Linked DNA regions of Homo sapiens: regions 1 and 3 are each linked to region 2. The links are contacts of gene promoters, found by promoter capture Hi-C in human tissues and cell types (Jung and others, 2019). All regions are on one chromosome and are shown on one strand. Each heading gives the region's core, a stretch centred on a gene start or on the middle of the fragment in contact. The rest is flanking DNA. Distances are from core to core; before and after follow the strand shown. Region 1 overlaps TMCC2 (transmembrane and coiled-coil domain family 2). Region 2 holds the start of TMCC2 (transmembrane and coiled-coil domain family 2). Region 3 overlaps DSTYK (dual serine/threonine and tyrosine protein kinase).

Evidence for each region. The method cuts DNA at HindIII sites, captures the fragments that hold promoters and counts their contacts. A contact is called where the count stands out against the background at its distance.
Region 1: a contact is called between a fragment that was not itself captured here and the fragment with the promoter of TMCC2 in region 2, in 2 of the 25 tissues and cell types used here (IMR-90 fibroblasts and hippocampus).
Region 3: a fragment that was not itself captured here is called in contact with the fragment with the promoter of TMCC2 in region 2 in 1 of the 25 tissues and cell types used here (hippocampus).

What each region holds. Positions count from the first base shown.
Region 1 is chr1:205,263,173-205,265,872 of GRCh38, forward strand. The region is part of intron 2 of TMCC2 (transmembrane and coiled-coil domain family 2); the gene reads left to right. Among named protein-coding and RNA genes, the nearest start is that of TMCC2-AS1, 27 kb to the left of the region's middle. RefSeq lists an enhancer at 93-790. The HindIII fragment of the contact is 8,685 bases long and covers 1-2,700 here.
Region 2 is chr1:205,226,665-205,229,364 of GRCh38, forward strand. TMCC2 (transmembrane and coiled-coil domain family 2) reads left to right here and starts at 1,282. Exons shown (of 5, transcript NM_014858.4): 1 at 1,282-2,107. The coding sequence starts at 1,901. RefSeq lists an enhancer at 933-1,072 and a silencer at 1,203-1,382. The HindIII fragment of the contact is 10,382 bases long and covers 1-2,700 here.
Region 3 is chr1:205,193,295-205,196,261 of GRCh38, forward strand. The region is part of intron 1 of DSTYK (dual serine/threonine and tyrosine protein kinase); the gene reads right to left. Among named protein-coding and RNA genes, the nearest start is that of DSTYK, 17 kb to the right of the region's middle. RefSeq lists an enhancer at 1,304-1,448 and a cis regulatory region at 1,376. The HindIII fragment of the contact is 4,492 bases long and covers 1-2,967 here.

The DNA.
Region 1 (2,700 bases), core at 90-2,589, 37 kb after region 2:
GGGCTGGGTGGGCAAGTGGAGTCTGCATGGAGACCAGTGAGATTAAGGGTTACCTCCAGTGAGGAAGGCTGGAGATGCCACCGTGATGTCTTCAGAGGTGATTTTAAATGCTATGGCCAATATTTGGACCTTTCTAAGGATTTGCACGCCCTCAGATATGGAGAAGGCAGGACGGGGCTGGGGAGAACTCCTTTCTTTTTCCTTGCTCTCTCAGGGTGTAAAAACCCACAGTCTGGCCGAGTGCAGCTTGGCTCAGGCCTGTAATCCCAGCACTTTAGGAGGCCAAGGCAAGAGGATTGCTTAAGCCCAGGAGTTTGAGACCAGCCTGGGCAACATGGCAAAACCCTTTCTCTACAAAAAAATACACAAATTAGCCAGGTGTGGTGGCATGTACCTGTAGTCCCTGCTACTGGGGAGGCTGAGGTGGGAGGATTTGAGCCTGGGGAGGTCAAGGCTGCAGTGAACCATGATTACCTTACTGCACTCCAGCACTCCAGCACTCCAGCCTGGGCAGCAGAGTGATTCTGACTCAACAAAAAACAAAAAAAGCCTGCAGTCTTAGCTATATGAAATTCCAGTTTCATCGCTGTGGAGTGAGGCTGGGCTGTGGTTGATAACCACTGATTAGACTCTTGCTTCCTAAAAAGGTGGCAGAGGGCCAGCTCTCCCAGCCAAAGGTGTCTTAAGCTGTGGATCTGTCAGAGCTACCCAGCCCTCCAAGGTGAGGTTAGGCCCTGAGTTTTGGAGCCAGACAGGATTTATATTCTAGGTTCTTTACTTACTAGTGGTGTAGTCCTGGGCAAGTTACATCTGTAGGCCTTGGTTTTCTCTCCTGTAAAATGGAAATAATAGTGCTACCCATCTTGTGAGGTTAATACTGGGATTAAATGAATTAATAGGTGTAAACACTGAGAGACAAGTCTGACGTATGTCAAGAAATGTTAGTGTTTGAAGGAGATTGGTTCCAAGACCCCCTGCAGATACCAAAGTTCCAGATTGCTTAAGTCTCATACAGTAAATAGTGTAGTATTTGCATAGAACCTGCACACATCCTCCCTTTAAATCATCTCTAGATTACGTACAATACCTAGTACAATGTAAATACTATGAAAATAGAAAATAGTGTGACACTGTTGTTTCTTGTTTTTTGTTTTTTGTTTTTGTTTTTGAGACGGAGTCTCTGTCACCCAGGCTGGAGTGCAGTGGTGCAGTCTTGGCTCACTGCAACTTCCGCCTCCCAGGTTCAAGTGATTCTTCTGCCTCAGCCTCCTGAGTAGCTGGAACAACCGGAACATGCCACCACACTCAGTTAATTTTGTTTTTTTTTTTTGGGACGGAGTCTCGCTCTGTTGCCCAGGCTGCAGTGCAGTGGCGTGATCTCGGTTCACTGCAAGCTCCGCCTCCCAGGTTCGCGCCATTCTCCCGCCTCAGCCTCCCGAGTAGCTGGGACTACGGGTGCCCGCCACCACATCCCACACCCAGCTAATTTTTGTATTGTTAGTAGAGACAGGGTTTCACCATGTTGGCCAGGCTGGTCTCCAACTCCTAACCTCAGGTGATCCGCCCGCCTTGGCCTCCCAAAGTGCTGGGATTACAGGTGTGAGCCACTGCGCCTGGCCCCTGTATTTTAAAATTTGTATTATTATTATTTTAATCCATGGTTGGTTGAATCCATGGATGTGGAATTCTCAGATACAGAAGGCTAACTATAATTGTTATCCTTATCCTTTGTCCAAAACATTTAGAATTTGAGAAAAAGAGAAGAGCCCAGAGGCCATAGGGAAAATATGCCACCTTTCTGGAAGCCAGTGGAACTGAGTCCTCCACAGGGAAGAGAATAAAATGGGGATATGTTCTGTGACTGGAGACTGACCCGCTCAATCCAGGCATTGCAGACCTTCATGTCACCAAGGAGGTGTCCAGGCCTCTGTGGAGGGACGGAAGGAGCTGGTGTCCTGCTGCAGGACTGTTAGGCTCAAGTCTGGGTCCTAGGGTAGAGAAGAGGGGTGGACGAGGGGGCCAGGGCTTCAGCCCAGGCCTCTGCACCCACCATCAGGCCCCAGCTGTTTTTCCCAGGAGTGTTTCTTCTCCTCTCATTAATGGGGATTTCACAGCCAGCTTCAACTCCGCTTTTCCATTTGTAAGCCAGAAAGATGCCAAATCAAGGGAGGAGAGAGCCAAGCTGCTAGGAAGGAGCCACGGCAGGTGGAGACTTTGCTATTTTACACTCCTGTATAGTCCTAAAACACTTTTGCTTTTCACAGCATTTCACATCCATTTCTTATTAGCTCCTCCCACTCTCCCCCTAAGTAGTTGGGACAGACTCTGTCCCTGTTACAAAGATGAGCAAATGGCAGTGATGCAGCCAGACTCAGAACCCATTTTCTTTTCTTTTTTTTTTTTTTTTGAGACGGAGTCTCGCTCTGTCGCCCAGGCTGGTGTGCAGTGGCGTGATCTCGGCTCACTGCAACCTCTGCCTCCCAGTTCAAGAAATTCTCCTGCCTCAGCCTCCTCAGTAGCTGGGATTACAGGCGTCCGCCACCACGCCCAGCTAATTTTTGTATTTTTAGTAGAGACAGGGTTTCACCATGTTGGTTAGGCTGGTCTCGAACCCCTGACCTCATGATCCACCCGCCTCAGCCTCCCAAAGTGCTGGGATTACAGGCATGAGGCACTGCACCTGGCCCCAGAACCCATTTT
Region 2 (2,700 bases), core at 32-2,531:
CTTCTAAAAGTGGAGCTGCCTAGTTTAGAAAGTAGCTGCTTGGCTGAAGTAAATTCTTAACAAATTAGTCTCTTCTAGGATACACATTAAAATGAGTGGTTGGAATGGGAAGAAGACAGAACAGAAAGTCAAGAAACTCCGACTAGTGAGACTGAAGTGAGGCTACAATGGCATGATGGGTGCGAAAGAGATTGGTAAACTGTAAAATCCTTTAGAGACCGTGTGGCCCCTTCACTGTCTAGGCCAGTGGTTCTCAAAGGGTAGTGTGTGTCAGAATTACCTGGAGGGCTTGTCAAAACACAGATTTCTTGGCTCACTACTTCTGATTCTCTAGGTCTGGCTGGTGGCCAAGAATTTGCATTTCTATCAAGTTCCCGTGTGATGCTGAAGTTGCTAGTCCAAGGATCACAATTTGTGAACCACTGGTTGCTGGATGAGTAAAATCCATTGTGTCCACAGGAGGCATACAATAGACACTCAGATGGGGTTGTTATTATTACTACTCTCCATATCTTGGTAACCCCAACGTTTGCTCTCTTCTGCTTCCAGATTACTCAGCACAGTTTGGCTGAGATTTATGCAAAGAGAGACAGCATTCCCTTTCCACACATCTATATGTAGCAACCTCCTGCCATTAATACCCTTTCTTATTTAAAAGCTGCTTCACAGTTTGTAAGGAACTCTCACATACGTTATTGTGTTTTTATATGAAATTCTTCCCAATTTCTGAGCATAAATTATGCCAAGTAAAGTCTCATTAAGAAATAATGCACTTAAAGCGGGGGACGGGGCGATGAGGAGAGAACGCCCCCTCCCCTTGGCATTTGCAGCTCTGAATGTAGGCATAGATTTAACTCAGACCAAGTATCCTAGAGGGGATAGGTGTCTCCCTTATGGCTAGAAGGTGCAAAGTTAAGAGCCCCAAAAAGCAGTGATAATAAACATCCCTCTTGTGCTCCTTCTCGCCAAATAAAGCGAATGGGTGGAGGAAATCCTGGGCGAGCCCTCCTCGGCAGGGTCCCTCAAGCTGGAGCCGAAACTGCGACTCCCACGCCCGCCGCCCCCGCCCCTGAACTGCAGCCCGCTCTCTGCAATGCAAAAACGCAGCAGCATCGTCCTCCAGCCCTCTCCTGGGGGATCGCACGGTGCAACCAACCCCAAAAACGAAGCTGCGCGACGCCCCCTCAGCCCCGCGGGCTTCCCATTGGCCGGTTGCCGCTGTCACTCCCTCCTAGCCTCGCCTTCCCGCTCCCGGGCGGAGGCAGCCGGGCGGGGTAGGTTGCGCGCTCGCCGCGGGCTCGGGCCGCGGTCGCGGCTTTGCGGCAGGCTGCGCGTCAGGCGGGGAGCGGGGCGCGCGGGCCGGGGAGGGGGCCGGGCGCGCTGCGGGCTCCGCGGCCGGACCATGCGGGGCAGGGGCCGGTTGCAGGGCCGGGGGCTGCAGCCGGCGCCGATGGCGGCCGACTAGGACCTGCCCGGCCGGCTGCCCCGCGCCCCGCCTCGCCCCGCAGCCCGGCCGGCCGGGAGGGATGCGCTGTGCCGCCCAGCTCCTCTCCGTCCTGCCCATGCCCTGAAGCAGAAAGTTTGGGGGCCGGGGGTTGTCTCCCTTCTCCCTCCTGCAATGACTGCCCAAGGACTCTTGCTGCCCAGCCTCGACTGTGACCTGTCTTCGCTCCCCAGGTCGAAATGAACTATTCCAAGCTATAACCAAGGCTCCCCCTTCTCGCCCCTCCCTCACCCGCCTTTAAGAATTTTTTTTTTAATTCAAGAAATTGTGGTCTGCCATCTCCCCTCCTTGTTAATAATTTAGACCCCAGGCCTCATATGAATATAAGAGGGGGTGCGGTCTTCCCCAAGACGGCGCGCTGGAAGGACAGATTCCCCTTGCCGACCCACATACACCATGAAGAGGTGCAGATCGGACGAGCTGCAGCAACAACAGGGCGAGGAGGATGGAGCTGGGCTGGAAGATGCCGCTTCCCACCTGCCGGGCGCGGACCTCCGGCCTGGGGAGACCACGGGTGCTAACTCTGCTGGCGGGCCAACTTCAGACGCCGGCGCTGCCGCGGCGCCCAACCCAGGTCCCCGAAGCAAGCCTCCTGATTTAAAGGTGAGCGCAGACCATCCCCCCGGCAAGCCCAGCCCGCGACTTAGCTCTCGCCACCCCACGCAGAAGTGCTTTAACAGGATAAAAGTGAGGGGGGAAGCCAGGCAAAGGTCAGAGAGGATGAGCGGATGCTTTGCTGGCACCCCAGGGGGGACGTCAGGTACCATTTATGCCTCTGTCTTTCAGCTCCGTGTCAGGTCTCTGTGTTTGTTCCCCATTATTCAGCAAGCGTTTTAGTGACTCACCCATCCGAGATTGTTTGAATAATGTGTGAAGTGTTATTCGCAGACAAAGGGCTGGAGAAATCCAAGATGCTAACCAAAAAGTGGACAGCAGGTGACCATTAGTTTTCCTTGCTGAGTAAGTCTCTACCCATTGGGATCTTTGTGTGTGTGTGTGTGTGTGTGTGTGTGTGTGTGTGTGTGTGTGTATGTGTGTGAGACGGAGTCTCGTTCTGTCGCCCAGGCTGGAGTGCAGTGGCGCGATCTCGGCTCACTGCAACCTCCACCTCCTCGGTTCAAGCGATTCTCCTGTCTCAGCCTCCAGAGTAGCTGGGATTACAGGCACCCGCCACCACGCCCGGGTAATTTTTGTAT
Region 3 (2,967 bases), core at 18-2,517, 33 kb before region 2:
TCTTTAAGATACATACTTTATTTAAATTGTTTTTGGGGTAATGTCAATCGATTTGTAGCAACACATTCTCCTTCTTGCCTATTTTCCATCCCATCAGGCTCAGAAAACAATAGCCCAAAGTATGGTGCTTTGGCATGCTGAGCACTTTGAACTAAAGGAGATTGGAAGGCTTCAGAAGCAAGGTTGCTCTCTGACCTTCTCCTAGCCTCCTGTCTGCCTCCCCTTTTTCTCCCCTTAAGCTACTCACAGAAACCAGAATTCCTCTTCCTCAAGACCATAGAAACTAGAAACCCTGGCCGGGCACAGTGGCTCATGCCTGTAATCCCAACACTTTGGGAGGCCCAGGTGGGTGGATCACTTGAGGTCAGGAGTTCGAGACCAGCCTGGCCAACATGGTAAAACCCCACCTCTACTAAAAATACAAAAATTAGCCAGGCGTGGTAGCATGTGCCTATAGTCCCAACTAGTTAGGAGGCTAAGGCAGGAGAATCGCTTGAACCTGGGAGGTAGGGGCTGCAGTGAGCCGAGATAGTGCCACTGCACTCCAGCCTGGGCAACAGAGTGAGACTCCGTCTCAAAAAAAAAAAAAAAAAGGAACTAACTAGCAATCCTCTTCTCTGAAGCAAGCCATAAAACTAGAAAGGTTGCTCTCTTTTCCTCTGAAGACCCTCATTCCAGAGAGGACCTGCCACATCCCACACCCTGGGGGAAGGAATGCACATAAAGAGCCCAAGAATAACCTGAGCAGACCAGCCTTGCTGGGTTTCTCAGTCTATTACCATTAGATCATGTCCTACTGTCCAATCACTTTCTACAAAGCAGTCAATTCTTCATCAAACCTAAGCATAAAAACAGTTTTCCCTGGGTCTTTGTGACTTCATTTCTAAAGGCTCCCGTGTCACATAAATTTGTTATGCTTTTCTCTTGTTAAACTGTCTTTTGTTAGAGAAGTGTTGGCCATGACCCTCAAGATGAGTGAGGAAATCTATCACACCTTTCAGCCACTACCAATCAATAATACATACTCGTGAAAGGTAACTGAAGGCTCTTAAGGTACAGTCTATGTCCAAGGTAGGGAAGGCACTACAAAAGTTGGTGAAATAGAAAATGCTTTTGCTTTATTATACTCCTGCAGCTCATAAAGTTAACATGGACTTCAAAGTTAATTCAGGTCTCAACAGAGTTATTACTGCAATACTTGTTCCTGGTACCCAAGGATTTCCCTCCTTCAGTAGTTTTAAAAATCTCACTTTTTTTTTTTTTTTTAAAATAGAGATGGGGTCTCACTATGTTGCCCAGGCTGGTCTCAAACTCCTGGGTTCAAGCGACCCTCCCACCTCAGCCTCCCAAAGTGCTAGGATTATAGGCATGAGCCGCCGTGCCTGGCCTAAAAAAAAAAGACAGAGACAGAGCTCAAAAAAAGAAAACTCCAGCTCTGTCGCCCAGGCTGGAGTGCAGTAGCATGATCTTGGGTCATAGCAACCTCCACCTCCCTGGTTCAAGCAATTCCTGTGCCTCAGCCTCCCAAGTACCAAGTAGCTGGGACTACAGGCGTGTGCCAAAACTCCAGCTCTGTCGCCCAGGCTGGAGTGTAGTGGCATGATCTTGGGTCAGGGCAACCTCTACCTCCCAGGTTCAAGTGATTCTCGTGCCTCAGCCTCCCGAGTAGCAGGGACTACAGGCAAGTGCCACTAATTTTTTTTTTTTTTTTTTGTATAGACAGGATTTCACCATGTTGGCCAGGCTGATCTCAAACTCCTGACCTCAGGTGATCCGCCTGCCTCAGCCTCCCAAAGTGCTGAGATTACAGGTGTGAGCCACCATGCCTGGCCAAAAATATCACTTCTAACATTGAATTTTCCATGCTTTTATGGGAAGTCAACTTAAGTCCCCTCTGAAAGTGAATGAAAAACAAAGGATTTTTATAGTTAACTGAGGCAACCAGTGACACAAAGATGCATTTCCACAAATAGGTAGTGATGTTTTATTTCTTACTATCTATACCAAAAGTAGAGAAAAGAACAAATCCTAAATTGAGAAAGTAATCTTATATAGTCTTTCTACTACAGTCAATTCTACCACAAGCTTCAAAGTACTAAGCTACAAAAATTCCAGGGACTGAGACAGAAAAAATTCAGTCTAGAAATATTTATTTATCCTTCCTAAACAAGCTCTCTGACCTTCAGCTAAATTTTAAAGACTGACACAGAAGGCACCCTCATTTAAGACAAACAGATGCTTAGGTAGTCTGGCTTTCAGAATCTTCAGGACCAAGTAGTACACGCTATTTCTTTGGAAGGGGATGGTTATTGAAGATTAGAGACTGAAATGCACTCTAGTAGGCAAAGCTCTCGCTGGAATCGGAAAAGTCAAGTTGGCAGAAGTCTCTCTAAAGTTATTCTATGTCAGGACCACGTTAAGATCTCTCACAGCTTTTAAGAAGCAGATAGTATTGGCACCGGGGGAGAGGAGACCGCCTCCCTAGGGGCTGATACTCCCTGGGAGCCACGTGAAATGGGAACGCACTCAGCAGCATGCTGAACAAGCTCCTTTCTGGGTGAAACTGCTCCTGAGACTGGTCACACTACCGAGGGAACAGAATCACAGCTGGCAGTTGAGGCTTTAACGTATGGGACGCAGAGATGGAAGTAGTTCCTTGAAGGAAGCCAACCCCATGCTTTACAGAGGGCTTAGTTTCTGGCATTTGGAACGCAGTGTATAACAGTTTATAAGCATTACCAATGATCCAAAGGTGGGAATATGTCAAAAGGACACAGGAACCAGCTTGAAGGGAAACTCACTCACCTCACCAAAGTGGGGACAATTTATGCATAAAAAGTGATAGGAAGATATTACAATCCATTGAAAAAATTCACAAGTCTACACTGATTAAATAAACAAGAGAAAAGGAAAGCTCTTCTTTACAGTAGACTACAACTAATACATATAGAAGGAATGATGGATATA